2 separate regions of the Homo sapiens genome follow, and region 1 is linked to region 2. Evidence: promoter capture Hi-C in human tissues and cell types (Jung and others, 2019). All regions are on one chromosome and are shown on one strand. The core of a region is centred on a gene start or on the middle of the fragment in contact, and the rest is flanking DNA. Distances in the headings are between cores, read along the strand shown. Region 1 has its middle 580 kb from the start of PCGEM1. Region 2 holds the start of TMEFF2 (transmembrane protein with EGF like and two follistatin like domains 2).

Region 1 (4,311 bases), core at 637-3,136, 1.1 Mb before region 2:
TAAAAAATAAATTGGTGTTTAAAATATAATTTTTAGCATTCTCTTTGATATTGCTTTGTCATTTGTAATGGACAACTTAAACTCTTTAATAGGTATTTTATGGTTTACCTATAACATTTTAATGAAATGCAAGAATGTTATGACTGTAATAAGTGGAAAAATAGTAAAGTTCCATTTACAGAACAAAAGGTTTTTGATGTGATGTCAAAGGCTCTTTAAATATATAATTCATCCCATCTGTTAGTCTCACCACATAGCCAGCTGTGAGGTTTATAAGTTAAAAAAAAAAAAAAAAAGGAAAGAACGAAAGCTTGGCAATTCCTAGCTCTGTTTTGATTAGCATAAACTTCTGCTTTCTTGTCAGGAAATCCCTCTCTGTAGATTAAAATATCTTGCAAGTTGCCATTTCCTCTTCTCTCATGATGTTTTATGATTAAGAAATGAAAAAATATAAGCAAGATACCACATATTGGCTGAACGAAATTTTCTATGCAACGTCCAATAGTGCACGTTGCCACAGTTTATTAGATGGTGGCACACCTTAAATATAAAGATGTCATCGATTCCAAATTTCAAACTGTGTTGAAAAGTGAAATTCCAAGGGAGAACATATACAGGAGATTTGTGCCAGAACTACTTCCCAAAAGCAATATCAAAAAGAAATGAAAAAATAATTTTTCTAATTGGAAATATGTGGGGAATATAAGGTAGGAAGAATTTAATTAATAGATTTGGAGTAAGGCCAGAACTGCAGAGTTAATACCTTTGGTTTTTCAAAGAGTGCCGTGGGATCTTGAATGCCTATGGTGGTCAGTAGAACTGGCAAGTTTTACTCCGGATTAATCATAAAGCAGCTTTACAAATTTATCTGGGGCCGGGCGCAGTGGCTCACGCCTGTAATCCCAGCACTTTGGGAGGCTGAGGCGGGCAGATCACTTGAGGTCAGGAGTTCGAGACCGGCCTCAACATGGAGAAACCCCAGGTCTACTAAAAATACAAAATTAACCGGGCATGGTGGTGCATGCCTGTAATCCCAGCTACTCGGGAGGCTGAGGCAGGAGAATTGCTTGAACCTGGGAGGTGGAGGTTGCAGTGAGCCGAGATCGCGCCATTGCACTCCAGCCTGGGCAACAAGAGCGAAACTCCATCTCAAAAAAAAAAAAATTATTTCGAGATAACGTTTTATGCAGAGTATGTCGTGTGTGATTTTCATGTTTTTTTTTTTTTTTTGGGGGCAAAAGACATACTTCAGCACAATATGACAATTTTGAGGGTCTTTCTTAGGAGAAATTATCAGCATCCAATAAAGCTATTTCAAAATATTAAATATGCTAACATTTACAAAGCACAGAAAGTGAAATTTCTTACTGTATTTTTAAATAAGCACATTCATTTTAATACTTCTGATTCTTGTGTGTGTGTATGTGTGTGTGTACATGTGTGTGTATGTTTTCCCCTTCATTTTTTTAAACTTTTATTTTAAGTTCAGGGGTAAAAGTGCAGGTTTGTTACATACATAAACTTGTGTCATGGGGGGTTGTTGTACAGATTATTTCATCACCCAAGTATTAAGCCTAGTACCAATTAGTTATTTTTCCTGATCCTCCCCCTCCTCCCACCCTCCAGTCTCCAGTAGTCCCCAGTGTGTGTTATCCCCCTCTATGCCTCCATGTGTTTTTATCATTTAGCTCCCACTTAGTGAGAACACGCGGTATTTGGTTTTCTGTTCCTGTGTTGGTTTGCTAAAGATAATGGTCTCCAGCTCATCCATGTCCCCGCAAAGAACATGATATCCTTCTTTTTTATGGCTCCCTAGTATTCTACCATGTATGTGTACTACATTTTTTTTCTAGTCTATCACTGATAGACATTGAGATTGATTTCATGTATTTGCTTTTGTGAATAGTGCTGCAATGAACTTATGCACACATGTGTCTATATAATACAACAATTTATATTCCTTTGGGTATATATCTAGTAATGGGATTGCTGTGTCAAATGGTATTTATGTCTTTAGCTCTTTGAGGAATTGCCACACTGTCTTCCACAATGGTTGAACTAATTTACATTCCCACTAATTCACAATCCAAGCTGATTCCTAACAAAGCTATGGCAGAATGTAGTTAACTACCAACTCTCCACCATGCATAGTAATGTAATTCATTCATATTTAATAAAAAGCTTTTAAAGTAATTGAACACCTATAGGAACCATAATAATTGGTGGCCTAGTATCTCATGATACTAGTTTCCCCTTGGTGAAACTGACAGTGACTGTGCTTATATCATCCCATCACTCTTCCTGCCTCTGTTGAAATGGCTGATTAACTCCATGGATAGCCACCTTAGGGAGTGGTTATCCAGCCACATCTTTGGAGTTTTCTTTAAAACACATATTTCATTTTTTTGCAGTATGGATAACTGAGATTTTCCCAAATCTTTTAGTTCTGGTTTCCTTATGGTTAACAATTTATTTAATTTATTTTTCTTATCCTATACTTTACTATAAGCAATAAAGAGAAATCAGGCGATATCTTTAACTCTTTGCTTAGAAATTTCATTAGCTAAATATATAACTTCTTTGCTTTTAAGTTCTACTTTCCACAAAACACTATAACATAGTTCAGCCAAGTTCTTTGCCACTTTATAACACGGGTCATCTTTCCTTCAGTTTCTCATAGCACGTCTCTTATTTCCTTTTGAAATCTCATCAGAATCACCTTTAACATTCACATTTCTACCAATAATCTCTTCAAGGGAATCTAACCATATTTTAGAATGCACTTCAAAATTTTCCAATCTATACCCATCACCCACCCAAACCCAAAGCCACATTTTTAGGTGCTTGTTACAGCAGCATCCCACTCCTAGTACCAAAATCTGTCTCAGTCTGCTTGGATTGCTATTATATAATACCACAGATTGAGAAGGGGAAACCACACCAATTTATTCTCTCTGAGTTCCAGAGGCTAGAAGTCCAAGATCAAGGTACTAGCATGGTTAGTTTCTGGTGAGGTTTCTTCCTGGCAGACAGACAGCTGCCTTCTTGCTGTGTCCTCATGTGGCCTTTCCTCTGTGCACAGGTGAAGAAAGAGAGCTCTGATGTCTCTTTCTTTTTTTATAAGGACGCATGTCCTATTGGATTAGGATTCACCCTTACGATTTCCTTTAACCTTAGTAACCTGCCTAAAGGCCCTGTCTCCAAATACAGCCACTTGTGGGTTAATGCTTCACATATCAATTTTGGGAGGACAAAATTGGTCTACAACAAAACTGTATGTGTACATTATATATCTACCTAAATTGTTTCTCTTTGCAATAAAAATATGAACAATATTAGAATGTCTTTTTGAAGGGCAATCTAACATATTTGGAGAAATATTCAAAATGGTTTCATAAAAGAGTTTTCAGAATGAGTAATGTCATTAGACCATTTTTACTTACAATAATTTATTGTATGTATTGTATTAATATTGTGCATGCATACACACACACCCCTTAACATACGATATCCAACTTCCCCTAAATTCTTCGTATTACTATTTTGGTTACATCAAAATGGAATGATAAAAATGAATTAAGATGTGGCATATGGGTCAGAAAACTGAAATATGATTCACCGTGAATAAAATTGTAGTTGTTAAAACTATTAATGTTTTTTATATCATTATTTACCATTTGTTTCTTATACCTGTCACAAACTTAATCACTTAAGTTGCCTGTAATTCTATCAATACAACAGCTAAACCATAAAGTGCACTTAAATGTTTAGTGTCAGATCAAATCTCCAATATTACACTTTGTCACCATATCTAACTACTAAAATATAAATTATTTTGTTTCAGTGTGCTGGCTTGACTGCTATTGTGAGTGCAATAAATAATATTCCCTGGCACTATAACAAAAAAGATTATTGAAAAGAGATAGTTCTGTGTGATAAAGATGTGTGAAATCTGTGGGAAGGAGAGGTTTAGTTTAGAGACCATTTCTGCCACTGAATATTGTACAAACAAAGGAATATTTTTACAAACGAAGCAATACTTTTACAAACAAAGGAAAAATTTTTCAATTTTATTCTGAATAGACAAAGATTGCTCTCCTCATATTGGTTTGTTCAATTCATATGTATTGATTTAGATAAAAATAGTTTGTATTATTTTATACAATTAGAAAATAGCCTATGTGCCCCAGTTTTTTCTAATTTATACAGCCTCACTCCAACTTATAGACTAACTAATACATGTTCTTGGTTTGAAATAAGCAAGCTAAGAATTAATTGATTATAAAAGTATAGATTAGGATAGTTAAAAAA
Region 2 (4,817 bases), core at 549-3,048:
GGAGATGTAAGATAAAGGGATGGATTTCACACAGGAAAAAAAAAAAGATTTCGTTGAGGCACTGAGGTGCTGCACGATCACATCTCTCAAAGGAGAAGTTAAAAAGCAAGGAAGTGGGAGGAGGTTGGAGGTTAAAGTACTTAAAAGGATTACTCGGGTACAATTTGTTTTTCTGCTGGTGTCTGCAAAGGATAGATAGTCCCGTTTTCAAAGTATATGAATGCCTCTTTTAAGTGATTGGGAATGGACACTAATTGCCTGTTAAATGTTATCAAATGCTCTCCTAAATTCAGGGGACACAGAAAGAGGGGCACAAAAGGAGAATTTAAATAGAAAAAGGGAGGATCCGGAGGCTTTTGAAAGCGGGGGGAGAAGAAGGAGGAGGGATAACAGAGAGGAATAGAGAAGGAGAGCGGAGAGAAGATAAACAAAAACAAAAACAGGAATCACTGAATAATCACACACCAAAAAGAAAGCTCTTCCCTATGGGGCATCCAAAACACTGAGACTGCAATAGTGACCCCGGTCATGGAAGAAAGATGTTCCTCTCCACCCTTGTCCCCGAAAGCTCTTGGTCCCGTTACTGGCGACTAAAATTCCATTAGGCTAAAGAGTGTGTCTAACTGCCTGAAGAATGCAGCAGACGGAAGGCGGGTCCCGCTATGCCGTTTGCCCTTCCCGCTGGAGAGAATGAAAGAAACGCGCAGAGCCAGAGACTCCTGCCGAGTTAGACCTTCTCTCGTCGCCCCAGGTCACCGGCCATCCGGCAAAGACCCGAGTAAGGAACGCAGGGTCACTGCCTGGGCCAACAAATGGAGCCCGCTCTCCCCTTCCCGGACGCCGCTGCCCGGCCGATGCTCCCGGCAACCCACCCGCGGCGTATGCAGAGGAGCCTTTCTCTTTCTCTCAGACCACTTGTCCCGACCAATCTGACCTTCCAAACACATCTGACCGCACCTCCCAGGTGGACACACTAATAGGCTACGGGCTGGAGAGGAGCGGGTGATGAGGAGAGGGATTCAAACCTGCGAACGCTTGGGCTGGGTCGGAGCTGCGGGGGGCCTGGGAGGAGAGAGGGGAGAAGAGAGAAGGAAGGAGAGCGCCTGCCGGGATGGCTGAGCTGCCTCGGCGAGCAGCCTTGGGGTTGCACGCTCTTGTGGGAGATGCTGCTGTTGCTTCCAGGTCGGCAAGAGCGGTTCTAACACCATCGCCTCTCACCCTCTTTCCTGTAAATCCCTAGAGAAACGTCCCTGGCCTCTCCGCCGCGACATTCCCAGCCTGCATCCCCCTACAGCCTAGGCGGCGCGCTCCCGCACGCTGGAGCGCCGGTCGCCAGCAGGACGCCCTCTCCCGCGCCGACTCGCCCCTCTCTGCCCTGCTGCTGCTGCTCCTCTGACACCTCCGCCCCCACCATCTCCAGCTCGGAGAGACGCCACCCAGCCGCGGCCCGCACTCGCGGCCCGGGGTCACGCGCGGAAGAGGGGCGCTAGTCCGGACCCCGCCTTCGGTAGGGGGCGTCCTGGAGCGGAGAGTGAGGCGAATGGTATATGAGTGTGCGGGTAGCCCACCCTGAAGCCCGAGCTTCTCATTTGAGCCATCCCCGCCTAGCCCCACTCGGGCCAGCGCCTGGCGAGCGAGCCCATCTGTGGCTTCCGCGGCCGCCTCCTCCTTGCATCCTTGCACCTCCTCGTCGACCCCTCCCTCCCGGGACCTGCATCCTGCTCCACCAATCAGAGCCCGACTGCCTCTTCCCACGTGACCCCGGGCGGGCTGAGGACCTGCTGCTTCCCAAACGCCAGAGGGATGCGGGCGGCAGAGCTCGAGAGGCGGCTGCCGGGCTGCGGGGCGCCTTGACTCTCCCTCCACCCTGCCTCCTCGGGCTCCACTCGTCTGCCCCTGGACTCCCGTCTCCTCCTGTCCTCCGGCTTCCCAGAGCTCCCTCCTTATGGCAGCAGCTTCCCGCGTCTCCGGCGCAGCTTCTCAGCGGACGACCCTCTCGCTCCGGGGCTGAGCCCAGTCCCTGGATGTTGCTGAAACTCTCGAGATCATGCGCGGGTTTGGCTGCTGCTTCCCCGCCGGGTGCCACTGCCACCGCCGCCGCCTCTGCTGCCGCCGTCCGCGGGATGCTCAGTAGCCCGCTGCCCGGCCCCCGCGATCCTGTGTTCCTCGGAAGCCGTTTGCTGCTGCAGAGTTGCACGAACTAGTCATGGTGCTGTGGGAGTCCCCGCGGCAGTGCAGCAGCTGGACACTTTGCGAGGGCTTTTGCTGGCTGCTGCTGCTGCCCGTCATGCTACTCATCGTAGCCCGCCCGGTGAAGCTCGCTGCTTTCCCTACCTCCTTAAGTGACTGCCAAACGCCCACCGGCTGGAATTGCTCTGGTAAGTCCAGAACCCCCGTCCCCGACCCTTTAACTCCGCAGAAGAACACGCGTATCCAGCACAGACCAGCCTACCCTAGCGCGCCTCCTCAGCCCCTCACCTCCTACTGCCCTAGACCCCTAATACCACCCACCTCTATCCAGAGAAACAAGGGGAACTGTTGCAGGCCCGGGGGTGAGGGGTGGTTCTGGGATGGGCAGAAAGTGCAGGTGTAGCAGGAAACCTTTGCATGCTTGCGCTTACATTGGAGCTGCGAGGATTTTGAGAAATATTAAACGGGATGGTTTTCTGGGTTCACTGTTTTGAAAGAGCACCAATCCTAGGGGAAACACTGAAACAGAAGCTTTGTCATCATTAAAGAAAAAAGTCTTACTAGGATGAGGAAGAAATAACTTTATGAGAAAGAATGAGCGAGAAAGCAATAAATCAAATGGTGACTGCAGGGGAATCGCTGATTCCTGGCAAAGGTGCCATGAGGTCGCACTGGTCTCCCGTTGAAGACCAGGTCACACAGATTCTAGAGGAGCTGGGTTTCAATAGAATTTCTCTCTCTCTCTCTCTCTCTCTCTCTCTCTCTCTCTCTCTCTCTCTATCTATCTATCTCTCTCTCTCTCTCATTCCCTTCTCTCCTAGGCGGCAAAAGACATTGGTTTTGCAGTCCAGATATGCCCCTCTCTTTGCTTCCCTAAGCTTCAAGGTAGTACAGGGGAGTTGAGAAAAAGAACACTTTGCGGGTCTCCCAGGCCGGAGTGGGCATGACTGAGGCTGGTCAGGCTCCATGTAGGCGAGCCGAGGGCGGAACCGACTTCAGTGGGCGCTGACTCCTCCATTTCTGGACAGGCTTCTGTGGAGTGGGTCAGGCACTCTTCTTGCTCGCTCGGGTTCCTTCAGATTCTGACGGCGAACGCTTGGCAGGCTTCGCTCTGCTGAAGCTTCCTAATTAAATAGGGCCAGAGGATGGGAGTTGCTGCACTCCTAGCTGGCATAGCATTTCGGTTTGACAGCCTGTAGTATACTGGGCAGAATTGTGGTGTAATTTCCTTGGCATTTTAAACTCCGTTAACATGCCTGGGTATTGTCCCCTAGGTGTGGTCTGTTCTAGTTTTAGCAAGTGTGTATGTAATTTTTCATCTTCTGTGAATATAATTTTGCTGTAGTTAAATCTGGCTCTGAATAAAGTGTCTTTCAAAGATGTATATAAGCTGAAGTGTATGTAACTTTAGAGAGGAGGGAATGACCAACTGTAACTCAGGGTGAAAGCCTGTATAGTTCCTAGTTATTACTGATGTAAATGCCAAAAGGAAAATTATTATGCATCATTCTAATTTATCCTTTACAAAGACAAGTTGAGATATGCAACCCTATTAGATTTGGGTCAATAGATTGTTCTCTTTTTTGGCAGTTTCTAAATTTGGCATTTTAATAAAACTCAACATGTTTCTATAACTTCTTGATTCATGCGTACATGTGTGTTGTTTTTGAAAGAATAAGTTTCACTTTGCTATTGCCTAATCACTTTTTAGATGCTTTATTATGGTAATAATTATGAGCCTGCAAAAACAATTTTTGGAAATGTTGATGGCTTTGTAGTCCAACACAGACTGGTTTGCTTCATTCCTAGCCCTTGCATTGTTTTAGGAAATAACTAACTTAAATGTGAAGTTGACATTTGCAATCAAGAAATTACATATTTACCAGATATTTTAAAGGGGACTGCATAAACTAAAGAGAATAAACTGGTTTTGCAGATAGGTTGTCAAGAACTTGGCACCCCGCTTCCACCCCTGTTAACTTAGAGGTGATCAATCTTCATTTGAGCCAAACAGACCATCACAGAAAACACTGTGCCTGTTTATCTTTATTATTGAGGCTTTGTTTCCTCTTTGTCTGGATACATTTCAAATAAGGGGTTGTTTCAGTCGTTGAAGCAAAAGAACAATTAAAGATGGGGAAATGGTAAAAGGGTATTCAGAGATCATCACTAGCTCTTTTCCAAAATGTGGAGTTTTGTGGTCATAAATATTGTCCACCTAATGAGCAAAAAATAAAAATAAAAAAAAAACAGGAAGCAAATGTTAAGCTTTCATTCACCACTGTCAGTATTAACGCAAGCTTTAAAAAATAGCACTATCAGAAAAGGATACTAAAGGAGAATTGACTAGAAAAGAATTGTGGAAAATGGAAACGAATATTGATCACTTAACTAGATTTTGAGGTTATCAGTAGACAGTGACCTTGCAGTACAGCTATAGTTGTTGGATTTAAAATTTAGGACAAGTATTTTAAAGCTTCAAAGTAGTGCTTTTTTTTGTTAAAAATCTGTAAGATGTTTTAATGACTGGAGTGTTCTCTTTGAATTTGAGGTTATGATGACAGAGAAAATGATCTCTTCCTCTGTGACACCAACACCTGTAAATTTGATGGGGAATGTTTAAGAAT

The links. Contacts are between HindIII fragments. The study calls those that stand out against the background at their distance.
Region 1: a contact is called between a fragment that was not itself captured here and the fragment with the promoter of TMEFF2 in region 2, in 1 of the 25 tissues and cell types used here (dorsolateral prefrontal cortex).

What each region holds. Positions count from the first base shown.
Region 1 is chr2:193,327,886-193,332,196 of GRCh38, reverse strand. No RefSeq gene overlaps it. Among named protein-coding and RNA genes, the nearest start is that of PCGEM1, 580 kb to the right of the region's middle. The HindIII fragment of the contact is 3,612 bases long and covers 81-3,692 here.
Region 2 is chr2:192,191,914-192,196,730 of GRCh38, reverse strand. It overlaps TMEFF2 (transmembrane protein with EGF like and two follistatin like domains 2), which reads left to right and starts at 1,798. Exons shown (of 10, transcript NM_016192.4): 1 at 1,798-2,378; 2 at 4,742-4,817. The coding sequence starts at 2,207. RefSeq lists an enhancer at 1,277-1,852. The HindIII fragment of the contact is 5,375 bases long and covers 1-2,895 here.